Linked DNA regions of Homo sapiens: region 1 is linked to region 2. Evidence: promoter capture Hi-C in 16 types of primary human blood cells and fetal thymus (Javierre and others, 2016). All regions are on one chromosome and are shown on one strand. Each heading gives the region's core, a stretch centred on a gene start or on the middle of the fragment in contact. The rest is flanking DNA. Distances are from core to core; before and after follow the strand shown.

The links. The method cuts DNA at HindIII sites, captures the fragments that hold promoters and counts their contacts. A CHiCAGO score of 5 or more calls a contact.
Region 1: a contact is called between a fragment that was not itself captured here and the fragment with the promoter of GNRH1 in region 2, in 1 of 17 cell types (total CD8 T cells). The highest score is 5.2, in total CD8 T cells.

Annotation. Positions count from the first base shown.
Region 1 is chr8:26,096,854-26,103,205 of GRCh38, forward strand. No RefSeq gene overlaps it. Among named protein-coding and RNA genes, the nearest start is that of EBF2, 55 kb to the left of the region's middle. The HindIII fragment of the contact is 153 bases long and covers 4,673-4,825 here.
Region 2 is chr8:25,421,275-25,427,017 of GRCh38, forward strand. It overlaps GNRH1 (gonadotropin releasing hormone 1), which reads right to left and starts at 2,987. Exons shown (of 4, transcript NM_001083111.2): 1 at 2,927-2,987; 2 at 1,916-2,057; 3 at 299-394. The coding sequence starts at 2,056. The HindIII fragment of the contact is 12,746 bases long and covers 1-4,112 here.

The sequences.
Region 1 (6,352 bases), core at 3,499-5,998, 680 kb after region 2:
GATTGCTTGAGCCCAGGAATTGGAGGCTGCAGTGAGCTATGGACATGCCACTGCCTTCTAGACTGGGCAACACAGCAAGACCCTGTCTCAAAAAAAAAAGTGTTAATAATGAAAGTGTGAAAGGCTTTAAAACAGCTGTTAGCACAAGCCAAGTTACTTGAGGAATTGTCAGTATGGGCTTAAGGAAAAGTGAAGGAAATATTATTGGAAATTGAAGAAAAGAAGCTTTGTTACATATTGGTAGAATATTTTGCAAAATGTTATCTCTGATAATGTGTAGAATTATAAATTGTACCTAATAATCTGGCTGATTTATCTAAGGAGAATTCCAAGTAAGAGTTTTGAAGTCACTGCCTGGATTCTCTAGCTCCAGATAGTAAAGTGGAAAAGAAGAAACATGAGCCAAAAAATAAATTATTCCATTTTAAAGTTTATAGAAAATATCAAGTAGCCAGAAATTCTTGGGTTAAAAATATCTGTTTCTTATTCCCAATCTTTCCAAAACTCTCAAATCTAAAAAGACCCTCAGAGCAAAGATCAAATCCACTGTGGGATTATATGGTCATCTGTTTAGACCTCAGAAATATTTTAACAGGCACCTCCAAGAACTGTTCAGTCAGACCAAAAGCTCTTTGAGGATTTTAGCATGTCACAGAGAGCCTCTTCTCTGACAACAGAGGTTCTAAGAATTGCAAGGGTTTTGACCCTCAACAGCTTTCCAAAAATCTCATGATAGAGAAGGGCTTATCTTGGCCCAGCACAGTGGCTCACAACTATAATCCCAGCACCATGCGGGGCCATGGTAAGAAGATCACTTGAAGCCAGGAGTTTGAGACTAGCCTGGGCAATACAGCAACATCCCTGTATACAAAAGAGAGAGGTGGAGTCTTATCTTGAGGAAAGTTGGGATTATCACTTTCATATAACAATGTGATCCCTAAAAAATTCATAGCAAGCCCACAGAGTTTTAAAGAGAATTATAGTAGCTCTAAGTAGACTGCAATAAGTAATGATGCATGATTTAATCCCTAGAGTAAATACTAAAAAAATACAAAGAAATATAACAAAACCTATTCAAGTAAGTAAAATGGAATGCTAAACAAAATTTTATTTACCTAAAGCAGACAGAAAGGGAAGAATAGAAGAAGCAATAATAGATTGAAAAAATAAAAAAGAAATAGCAATGTGGTAAACTTCAATCCAACCATATCAATAATTCTATTAACTGTAAATAACCAACATAATTAAAAGGCAGAGATTGCCAGACAAAATTTTTTTAAATCAAAACTCAACTATAAACTCTTTACAAGAGACAAGCTTTTAAATATGAATGCTTAGATCCTGCAATAAACTGTCTTTACTCCGTGTGTGTGTGTGTGTGTGTGTGTGTGTGTGTGTGTGTGTGTGTTTTGAGACATGGTCTCACTGTCTCACCCAGGCTGGAGTGCAGTGGCATGGTCACATACGTCTCACTGCAACCTCGACCTCCTGGGCTCAATCAATCCTCCCACCTCTGCCTTCTGAGTAGCTGGGACTACAGGTGCACACCACCATGCCTGGCTAATTTTTGTATTTTGTTGTAGAGGTGGGGTTTCTCCATGTTGCCCAGGCTGGTCTCAAAATCCTGGGCTCAACTTATCCGCCCATCTCAGCCTCTCAAAGTACTGGGATTACAGGTGTGAGCCACCACATTCAGCCTTGACTCCATTCTTGATGTTTGGCTGCCGACAGCTTACAAGCCCCACCCTTGCCCCTTTTGTCCCACATACAGGCAAACCAGTAAGAAAGCCCACAGGCTCTCCTCTGTCCCCTTGATACTGAAAGTTCAAACCACACAAGTCTCCTACACTGGCCCACCCCCAGCCACAACATAAACCAAATTCACTTGTCCCAGTCACCCTCTTGGCTGAAGCCATTCTTGACTCCCTTGTACCTACCCTGCTCTCCTGAAAAAGTCCCATTATGTGAGTAATAAATTTTTTCATACCCTCTTGATAAGAATGGCATCATCAGTCTTGACATCCAAACCTATTTTGAGCAGCGAAGTTAATCCTGCCCTCCATGAGGCCACCACACAGCAAATTAAAAGTAAAAAGATAGAGAAAAAGGAACATGTACCCAGAAAGCAAAAGATGATGAGGCTATATTGTTACAAGACAAAGTAGGCTTTAAGATAAGGAATATTGTCAGGGATAGGGAGGTGATTTGGTAATGATGAAAGATTCTATTCATCAAGACTACAAACAATCCTAAATATGTATGCATCTATATCGGATCTTAAATATTAAAATAAGATACATCTTACAGAACCAAAGGAAGAAACAGACAAATCCATAATCATAGTTGGAGATTTTAATACCAATCTCCTAGTAATAGAAGCAACAGACAAAAGTTTAGTAAGGATTTAGATTTGAACAGCACTATCAACCAATTTGACTTAATTGACTTTTATAGAAGCGTATACCTTATAACCACTTAACGTATATGTGTATTTGTCAAGTGCATATGGAATGTTCAGATAGAACACTTACTGGGCCATAAAATAAGTGTCAACAGTTTCAAAAGATTGAAATACAGAACATGTTCTATGACCACAATGAAATTAAAATTAAGAATAAATAACAATGAGATATCTAGAAAACTCCTAAGTATTGGAAATTAAACAGCATATTCTCAATGACCAAATAAGATAATGAAATAAGTTTTAAAATTTTTTAACTAAATGATAATGAAAACACAACATATAAAAACTTGTGAGATATAGCTAAAGCACTGATTCCCGGGAAATTTGAAGACTTATATTAGAAAACAAGAAAAGTTTAAAATTAATGAGCTATGTTTCCATCCTCAGAAGCTAGAAGAGCAAATTAAATGCAAAACAAGTGATATGGTTTGGCTGTGTTCCCACCCAAATCTCATCTTGAATTGTAGCTCACATAATCCCCACGTGTGGTAGGGACCTGGTGGGAGGTAATTGAATCATCAGGGTGGGTCTTTCCTGTGCTGTTCTTAAAGTGAATAAGTCTCATGAGATTTAATGGATTTTTAAAGTTCAGTTCCCCTGCACACGCTCATTTGCCTGCCACCATGTAAGACATGACTTTGCTCCTCCTTTGTCTTCCACCATGATTGTGAGGCCTCCCTAAACATCTGGAACTGTGAGTCCATTAAACCTCTTTTTCTTTATAAATTAATCGGTCTTGGGTATGTCTTTATTAGCAGCATGAGAACAGATGAATACAACAAGTATAAATAGGGAAATAATAAAGAGCAGAAATTAATGAAATGAAAAGTAGGAAAAAAAGGAAGCCAAAATTTGGTTATTTGAAATATCAATAAGATTAATAAATCTCTATCGAGATTGAGTAAGAAAATTAGAAAAAAGACACAAGTTACTACCAGCAATGAAAAAAGAGAGGACACTATAAGATTTCAGAGATAATAAAGTGATAAGAAAATGTTATTAATGGCTAAATGACAACAAATTTGACAACTTATAGGAAGTGGACAAATTCCTTGAAAAATATGACTCACCAAAACAGACACAAGAAGATATAGAAAGAATGGCTTGATATCACTGAAATTGAATTTGTGATGAAAATTCTTTCTACAAAGAAAACTCTAGGCCCAGATAATTTGGTAAACTTAAGCAATTAATGCTAGTCTTAACAGCTTTTTCAGCCAGAGGGAACACTTCACCGCACATTTGGTGAGGCCAGCATAGCACTGATACTAAAACCTAAAAAAAAGTCATTGAAAGCAAAGAAAATCATAGGCTAATATCCAACATACATTCCACGAAAATAAAATTACAGACCAGGATTTTTTAGACATTAGCAAGTAGAAGACAGAAATATAAGAAAAGGATAATACCTCATGACCAAGTGGGGTTTATCCCAGGAATATAAAGAAGTTTAACATTCAAAAATTAATATACTCCTTCACATAAGGATAAAGGAGATATCATACAAACATGAAACAAAAGAAACTTGGAATGGCTACACTAAAATGAGACATGGTAGATTTCAGAACAAGGACTATTACTAGAGGGAAAAAAATTCATATTAATAAAGAGAACTACTTATCATTCAGTTGTAAAAAAATCTTAAATGTGTTTGCACCAAAGAGATATTTCAAAATAAACGAAGCAAAAAACAAAACAACAACAACATAAAAACCCTCAAAAGATTGAAAGAAGAAATCCACAATTAGAGAAAAAGAGTTGATTATTTTTTCTTCAGTCATTACTAGAGCAACTTCATGGAAAAATTATTGAAGAGATAAAAGACTTGAAAAACACTATGTAGCAATTTAATCAATTTACATTTATACAACATTTCACCCAACCACAAAAGAATATACGTTTTTGTTTAAGTGCACCTGAAACATTCACAAAGATAGAACATATGCTGGGCTATAATACAAGTTTCAACAAATTTTAAAGATTAAAACCATACTGAATATATTCTCTAACCACAACAGAAAAGAAAATGAAAATCAGTAACAGGAAGATATCTTTTAAATCTCAAATGCATAGTTAATAAACTAAATGAAAATGAAATCACAAGGCACAAAACTTGTGGGATGCATCTAAAGCAGTGCTCCAAGGGAGTTTTGAAACTTTAAATGCTATTTTGGAAGACAAAAAAAAGGGTATATGATCAACGGTCTAAGCTTCCATCTTAAGAAGCTAGAAAAAAGAAGAACAAATTCAACCCAAAGTAAGTATAAGGAATAGAATATAAAAAAGCAGAAATCAATGAAATAGAAACAGAAGAATAGTACAGAAAAAAATCAATAACAGCAAAACTGATTCTCTTTTATAAGCTTAATAAAGTTGATAAATCACGTACAAAAATTAAAAATATAGAAAGGATAATAACTTAATAAATTCGACAACTTAGATAAATGGAACAAATTTCTTAAAAGATAAAAATTACCAAAACAGTTTCAAATGGAAATAGAGTATCTGTATAGCCCTATATATAAAAGAAATTGAATTCAAAATTTTAAAATTACAAAGAAAACTCCAGGCCTGCATGGCTTCCTAGGTGAATTATGTTAAACATTTACAGAAGAAATAATGCCAATCTTTCATAGGCTTTTCTGGGAAATAGAAGAGAAGCAGATATATCCTAATCATTCAATGAGGATAGTATCACCCATATACCAAAATCTGACAAAGATTTCATAACAACAGGAAACTACAACCTATCCCTCATTAACTTAGATGCAAAATCATCAACAAAATATGCAAAAAAATCCAAAAAACAAGGCCAGCAATATATTACAAGAATAATATGTTATGAGTAAATGACATTTATTTCAGGAATGCAAAGTTGGTTTAATGATTTAAAAGAGTCAAGTTGCAAGGAGTCTCAAATAGCCGAAACAATCCTAAAAAAGAAGATAAAGTTGGAAAGCTCACACTTTCTGTTCAAAAATTATTACAAAGCTACAATAATTAAAACTATATAACAGTGGCACAAGGACAGACATAGGGACCAACAGAATAAAACAGCCCAGAAATAAACCCTCACATATATGTTTATTGATGTTCAACAAGGGTGTCCAAACATTTAATGGGGTAAGACAGTCTTTTGAACAAAGGGTGTTGGGAAAACTAGATATCCGTATGCAAAAGAATGAAATTGGATTCTTACTAGACACCATATATAAAAAATGATCCAGAATGAATCACAGACCTAAAATTAAGAGTTAAAACTGTAAGACTCTTAGAAGAAAACACAGAGTAAATCATCATGACCTTGAATTTGGCAGTGGATTCTTAGATATGACACCAAAAGCACAGGCAATAAAAGAAAAAATAGATAAACTGTACTTCAATTAAGTTAAGAAGTTTAGTGCATCAAAAGATACTATCAAGAAAGCAAAAAAGACAATCTACTGAATGGGGGAAAATGTTTTATCAGATAAAGTATTAATTTCCAAATTATATAAACAACTCAACAAAAACCACAAAAATAACCCAATTCAAAAATGGGCAAAGGATTCATATAGACGTTTCTCCAAAGAAGATGTGCAAATGACCAATAAACACATGAACTGATACTCAACATCATTGGTCGTTAGAGAAATGCAAATCAAAACCTCAATGAGATAACATTTCACACCTACTAGAGTGGCTGTAATTTTTAAATTTTAAGAAAAAAAACAGAAAATAATAAGTGTTGGCGAAGATGTAGATAACATTGGAAACCTTGTATTTCTGGTAGGAAAGAAAAATGGTGCAGCCACTGTGGGAAACAGCTGGGCGGTTTCTCAAAAGGTTAAACATGGAATCATCATATGACTCAGCAATTCTACTCCTAGGTATATATCCAAAGAATTG
Region 2 (5,743 bases), core at 1,737-4,236:
GAAATTTGTTTTGTTAGTTATCCCAAAAGCTAGAACCAGGATTAAGAGATAAAAGTTACAGAGAGATTTCAATTCAACTTCAGAAAAAACAAACAAACAAAAAAACGTTTCAGCCCCTAGTGCTGTCTAACCACCAACTGGGATTGTCATGAAACACGGTCCTACCACAGGAGGTAACAGAGGAGTCAGGAATGTAAGCCCCACAGTATCTGGGAGGTAGCTGTCCTAAGTGATCCCCAAAGGCTTATCCACCTCTAGAGCTCTATGCTGTGATCATGTTATGATCACTTTAACTTACCAGAGCTCCTTTCAGGTCTCGGAGGGGAGAACGTGGCTGGTGCGTGGTGCATTCGAAGCGTTGGGTTTCTGCCAGTTGACCAACCTCTTTGACTATCTGAAGAAAGAGAATGTGATGCTTTGAGATGGAGATAAAGAAATGAAATGGTGTTTTCCATTTCCACCAAAAAATTGTGGAGAGTGGGGTCAAGGGGGATGTGGGGCTGGGGGAGATTGGGAAAGTTGCAGGATTAGCATAGGGACTTTAAGGACACAGATCTGCCATCTGACATTTCTACTGAATGGCATGGGGATCTGGAGATAATGGAGACAGTAAGAAGATATCATATTTTCCCCTTAAAGATGAAAAGAGGGAGGCACTTTGAGCCTCATGAGAGTCAGTATACCCAAAAAAACAAAAAGCAAAAAACCCCCAAGAGTTTATAGTTGTAAAAAAAGGTTGGTTTTTATTTTCTAGGTTTTACTAAATATGTTATAGTTCAATGAGATTTGCTTCATGTATAACCTGCAGAGAAGAGGCTTCAGATTCTGGGTCTTCTTTAATACTAAATTATCTTTATTATTTCTCAGAAAAGAGATAATTCCTTCCAATGATAATGAAATGATTTAAAATTTTTCCCATTCTCAGTCCTAGGTTATTTTTCAGGTTAATCAGCTAACATAGATGGCTTCTTTCCTTACATGACCCTGATGAGTGGTCATATTTTATAAACAAAAATCCTCCCGGCACTTTGGGAGGCCAAGGTGGGAGGATCCCTTGAGCCCAGGAGTTTGAGACCAGCCTGGGCAACATAGGGAAACCCCATCTCTATAAAAAGTTTTAAAAATTAGTTGGGTGTGATAGTGCATGCCTGTGGTCCCAGCTATGCAGACGGCTGAGGTGGGAGGATCACTTGAGCCCAAGAAGTCAAGGCTGCAGTGAGCTGTGATCGTGCCACTAAATTCCAGCCTAGATAACACAGCGAGACCCTGTCTTAGAAAATAACCCCAAAAAACAAGAAAGCAAGTACCTCACGTTAGTGTTGGTGCCAGTCCTATAATCTAATCTATATGAATTTAAATCAGCATGTTTTCTACTACGTTATCTTATCATCTTGAGTTTGCTAATTCCTGTATTCTACCAGTCTCCAACTTTGCTTAAATGCCCCTATCAGTGAAAAGAAATTATAGGGCATGCATCCTTGATAAGGATACTCATTTATAAATTATAAAAATGTACTGATCTAATAGCATAGATATGTTTAAAAGATGAAATGAGGAAAAAAAAAACGAAGTTCTAACGTTTTTTCCAAATCCCAAAGAATCATCTTCTGATACAGACCTTGACCCTATCCCATTGTTTCTAATTCCTTTAGCAATCCCATACACTCAGAGTATGACGTGCTGTCTCACACTTGTTGCTATTAATATATTCTTTTGGAATTTTTCCAGCTCTTTGTTTAGTCCCTGTGTGAACTGAAAGTAGGAATGGGACTTCTACTTTGTAAGTGCCTTATCTCACCTGGAGCATCTAGGGTACAACATCATAGAATATTGACATTGGGGCTATCCTGAATGTTTAATATAGTTAAATTGAATAAAATCACTATGTCTTATTTTGAAGCTGAGAGAAACTTACCTCTTGGAAAGAATCAATCAAATTTTCGGCATCTCTCTTTCCTCCAGGGCGCAGTCCATAGGACCAGTGCTGGCTGGAGCAGCCTTCCACGCACCAAGTCAGTAGAATAAGGCCAGCTAGGAGTTTTTGAATTGGCTTCATTCTAAGGCACATGAATGCACAATCAAATTAGATCCAGACAAGGTTGAGTATAAACTAAAAGACCTCTTTAGTGAAAAAGCTAGCATCTGTATCACTAACCCTGCAGAAGATGGAAGTCAGAGTCAGTTTTTACATACAGACACTGAAACTCAGAGACACTTGCTGGCTTGCCTTTAGTTTCTTAGCCACTGGGGACAAAATGAGTACTTAAGCTCACATGTTCAGGACCTTTTTAGTACTAAAATAGTCTATACTTTTATTTTTATTGTTTGGTTATCCAAACCCCATAATTCATCCCTTATCAAGTTCATCATTTTGCCTTAACATTTCCCCTGTTGTGGATTGGTCTTCAACTCTTTCATTCCTGAGATAAAGAGAACTGAGTCATCTGTTAAGAAAAGTAGCTCCTACTAGGAATCTCTGGCTAATATAAAATTGCTTGACATTACATGGCTACCCCATGGTACTAATGACATTTTTCTATTTATCCTTCAGTCTTCCTAGCATTACTGCTGGCTGAACCATCTGTGGGAGAGAGGACTCAACACTGTTCAAAGTAGTTAGTCCCAGACCAGATGCCTTCCTAGCCAAGGGGGCCTCTAATTTTCTAATGAAATGTGTCTCCAAGTTAATTTTCATTTGATGGGAAAGAGGCTAAAAACTAAATCAAACACTGGTCGATAAGCTGTGGGAGTCCCCAAAGCCTGGATCTCTGTGGCTGGTGATGGCAAGGACAGTGAAGGACAGGACATCATTAGATACCGTCACACCTGGATTTAGCCCTTGGGCTGTCAAATGCCCTGTAGACATACAATAGCATGCAATCTAAAGAAGAAAAACTCGTGCTAGAAATAATACAAAGCCTTTTACCTGTTTAGAGGCAGAGAGCCAAAAAGATCCCAATCTTCCCTTGAAGTAGGTTGAGTACTGTGACTTTTCTGTTTTCCTATCTTCCTTTTTATAGGGAATTTTTCCAGGACATTGAAATCTTTCCTGCTGGTAAATTATACTGCAAATGGACTATGCTTTTTTTTTTTTAATGGTAATTTTTAAAAATCCTCACATAAAGCCCTTTAATGGTGTATGTAATTGGAACACCCCCTGGTATATCTGTTAGATTTACTTAAGTGCAGCCATTAAAACCTCAGCTAAAACTTTTATAGCTGAGGACACAATTCAAAGAGATTAAAATCCAGCTAGATTGGATTCCCTTGAGGAAACCAGCAGACCTATCAAGAGTTCAAGGAAAATAGATGTCTTAGATTAAGTGAAGTCAAATGCATACATAACTTCCACAAAGGAGGCTATACAACAAATATAGGACATTGAGTCAGGATGTCTGGGAGCTTCTGGCTCTTGGATTCTTCATTTGTAAAAGGAAGGGTGTAGACTAGATGGACTAGATGATCACAGAGTTGCTTCCAATTTTAAAAATCTGATTTACAAGTAAGTGACACTATATACCAAGTCCATGTAGGATCCTAAATCAGACAGTTGTGTGTTTGAAAATTCCCTCATCTACCCACCAGGTTCCCTGCTTGACTTACCTTGAAAGCCTTCTAAAGCATCAAAAAGGCAAGAAACATATTCTGAGAGCAAGACCATATTGAGCAGACTTACATCAACAGATCAACTCATTTCAGTAGATGCTTATTGAGTTAAATATGCAAATCACTCTTAAGGGCAGTGGGAACAGAAAGATGAGAAATTATAGTTATTTAATAAATAGCAAATGTATAAGAGCATTCATTACAATAGCCATGCAAAGTGGGTATCATTATCTAAATTTTATAGATGTTCCACCCCAGAGGTGCAACCGTGGACGTGTTATTTACACAGGACAAGCATGTAAAATACACACACAACCATTACTCTTAATTACATTTATTTGAATACATGGTTGTCTTCCCCTAATTTACCCCTAGGCTGAAACCTGTAATAGTCAAAGATCCCATCTTATTTAAATCTCTCTTAATAAACCCCCGGCATTTAGTGAGCATTCAGTAAGTATAGGTTTGAATGAATGAATGAACGAATGAATGAATAGAAAGCAAAAAGCTTTTAACCAGGTAAGGCCTAATGCTGCCTCTATTTCTGCATCAAAGATATGCTTTATCTGACACAGAATTAAACTTTCATGTATAATTGGCTGTAAATCCTGTTATATTAGCTAAGCTGTAAGATGGCTAAAAAAAATAACTGGATATTTGTTCATTTTACAGCTGGGAATGGCAATTTCCCCTCATGTAGGATGCTAAACCCATCAGTCATTGCACAGTCTCCTCTGGAATAACTACATTTGCAGGGATTTCAGAGTAAAGAGAAATGGTGTCTTACCTAAGTAAATTCCCTTGCTTTGTCCAGCCATCTCTGTGGAGGCTGTCCAGTCCTCATGATAGGATAGAGAAGGGAGTACACTTTAAAGTATAACTGCAAATAGAGGAGAATTTAAAAATAAAATGTAAGTATTTGACTTTGTTCCATTTAAATTATTTCATTTAGACACTTTGACTCATGTAAGTGCCATTCTGACATGAAGAGTGGAATCTCATCTCACTACAATATGCAAGTAGGGACAGACTGTTTTTCAACCAGAGTTCATTATGGTTGAATAGTGCTAGTTTAAATTGTCCAATTGGTTTGTGTTTGCTGAGAGATGTGCCTCTAAGTATTGCTTAAGTAGAAAATGTGGTCTCTGGATAGGACTAATGAAATGAGAGTTAAGACTTGTGATGCATATTGTCAGGTGAATCACTTATCTCTGGGTAGGTAGGCCTCACTGGATTTCTTGTAGGTTATTTCTAACAGTTGGGATTAAATTTTTGAAAAATGTTTTGAAATTATTAAGATGAACACAGCAATATTGTATTACTCAGCATTCTCTAGAGGGACAGAATACATACACACACACACACACACACAAACACACGCACATAGGAGAGTTTATTAAGTATTAACTCACACGATCCCAAGGTCCCACAGTAGGCCGTCCGCAAGCTGAGGAGCAAGGAAAGCCAGTCTGAGTCCCAAAGCTGAAGAACTTTGAGTCCAATGTTCGAGGGCAGGAAGCATCCAGCACAGGAGAAGGATGTAGGCTGGGAGGTTAGGCCCATCTAGACTTTTCACGTTTTTCTGCCTGCTTTATATTTGCTGGCAGCTGATTAGATGGTGCCCACCCAGATTAAGGGTGGGTCTGCCTTCCCCAGCCCACTGACTCAAATGTTAATCTCCTTTGGCGACACCTTTATAGACACACCCAGGATCAATACTTTGCATGCTTTGATCCAATCAAATTGATATTCAGTATTAACCATCACAAATATGGTCTATGAATTCATCCAATATGCTGTTGTCCTTAAAGTCTCCATTAGCATTGTCTTAGGTCACACAGATCTCAAGGCAAGAGTCAACTTTGTTTTGTCTTACTTTCTATAGCACCAAATAGGTTATCAAGCCACTATGCAATTAATGAGTTTTTGATATTGAATGACAAACTTAAAACCATTTAAGGATTCCATGGTTAGGTCAGTTTATCAAAAAGTTAAATATAATAAATTGGGTTTAAATAATTGGATTTTATATTTGTCATATTTTTTTCTAAATTTGAAAGAATGGCTTTAGAGAAAAAACTGCTTCATCAACATCAAAACACCTCAAAATTATTACAGCGATGATCTCATAATATCA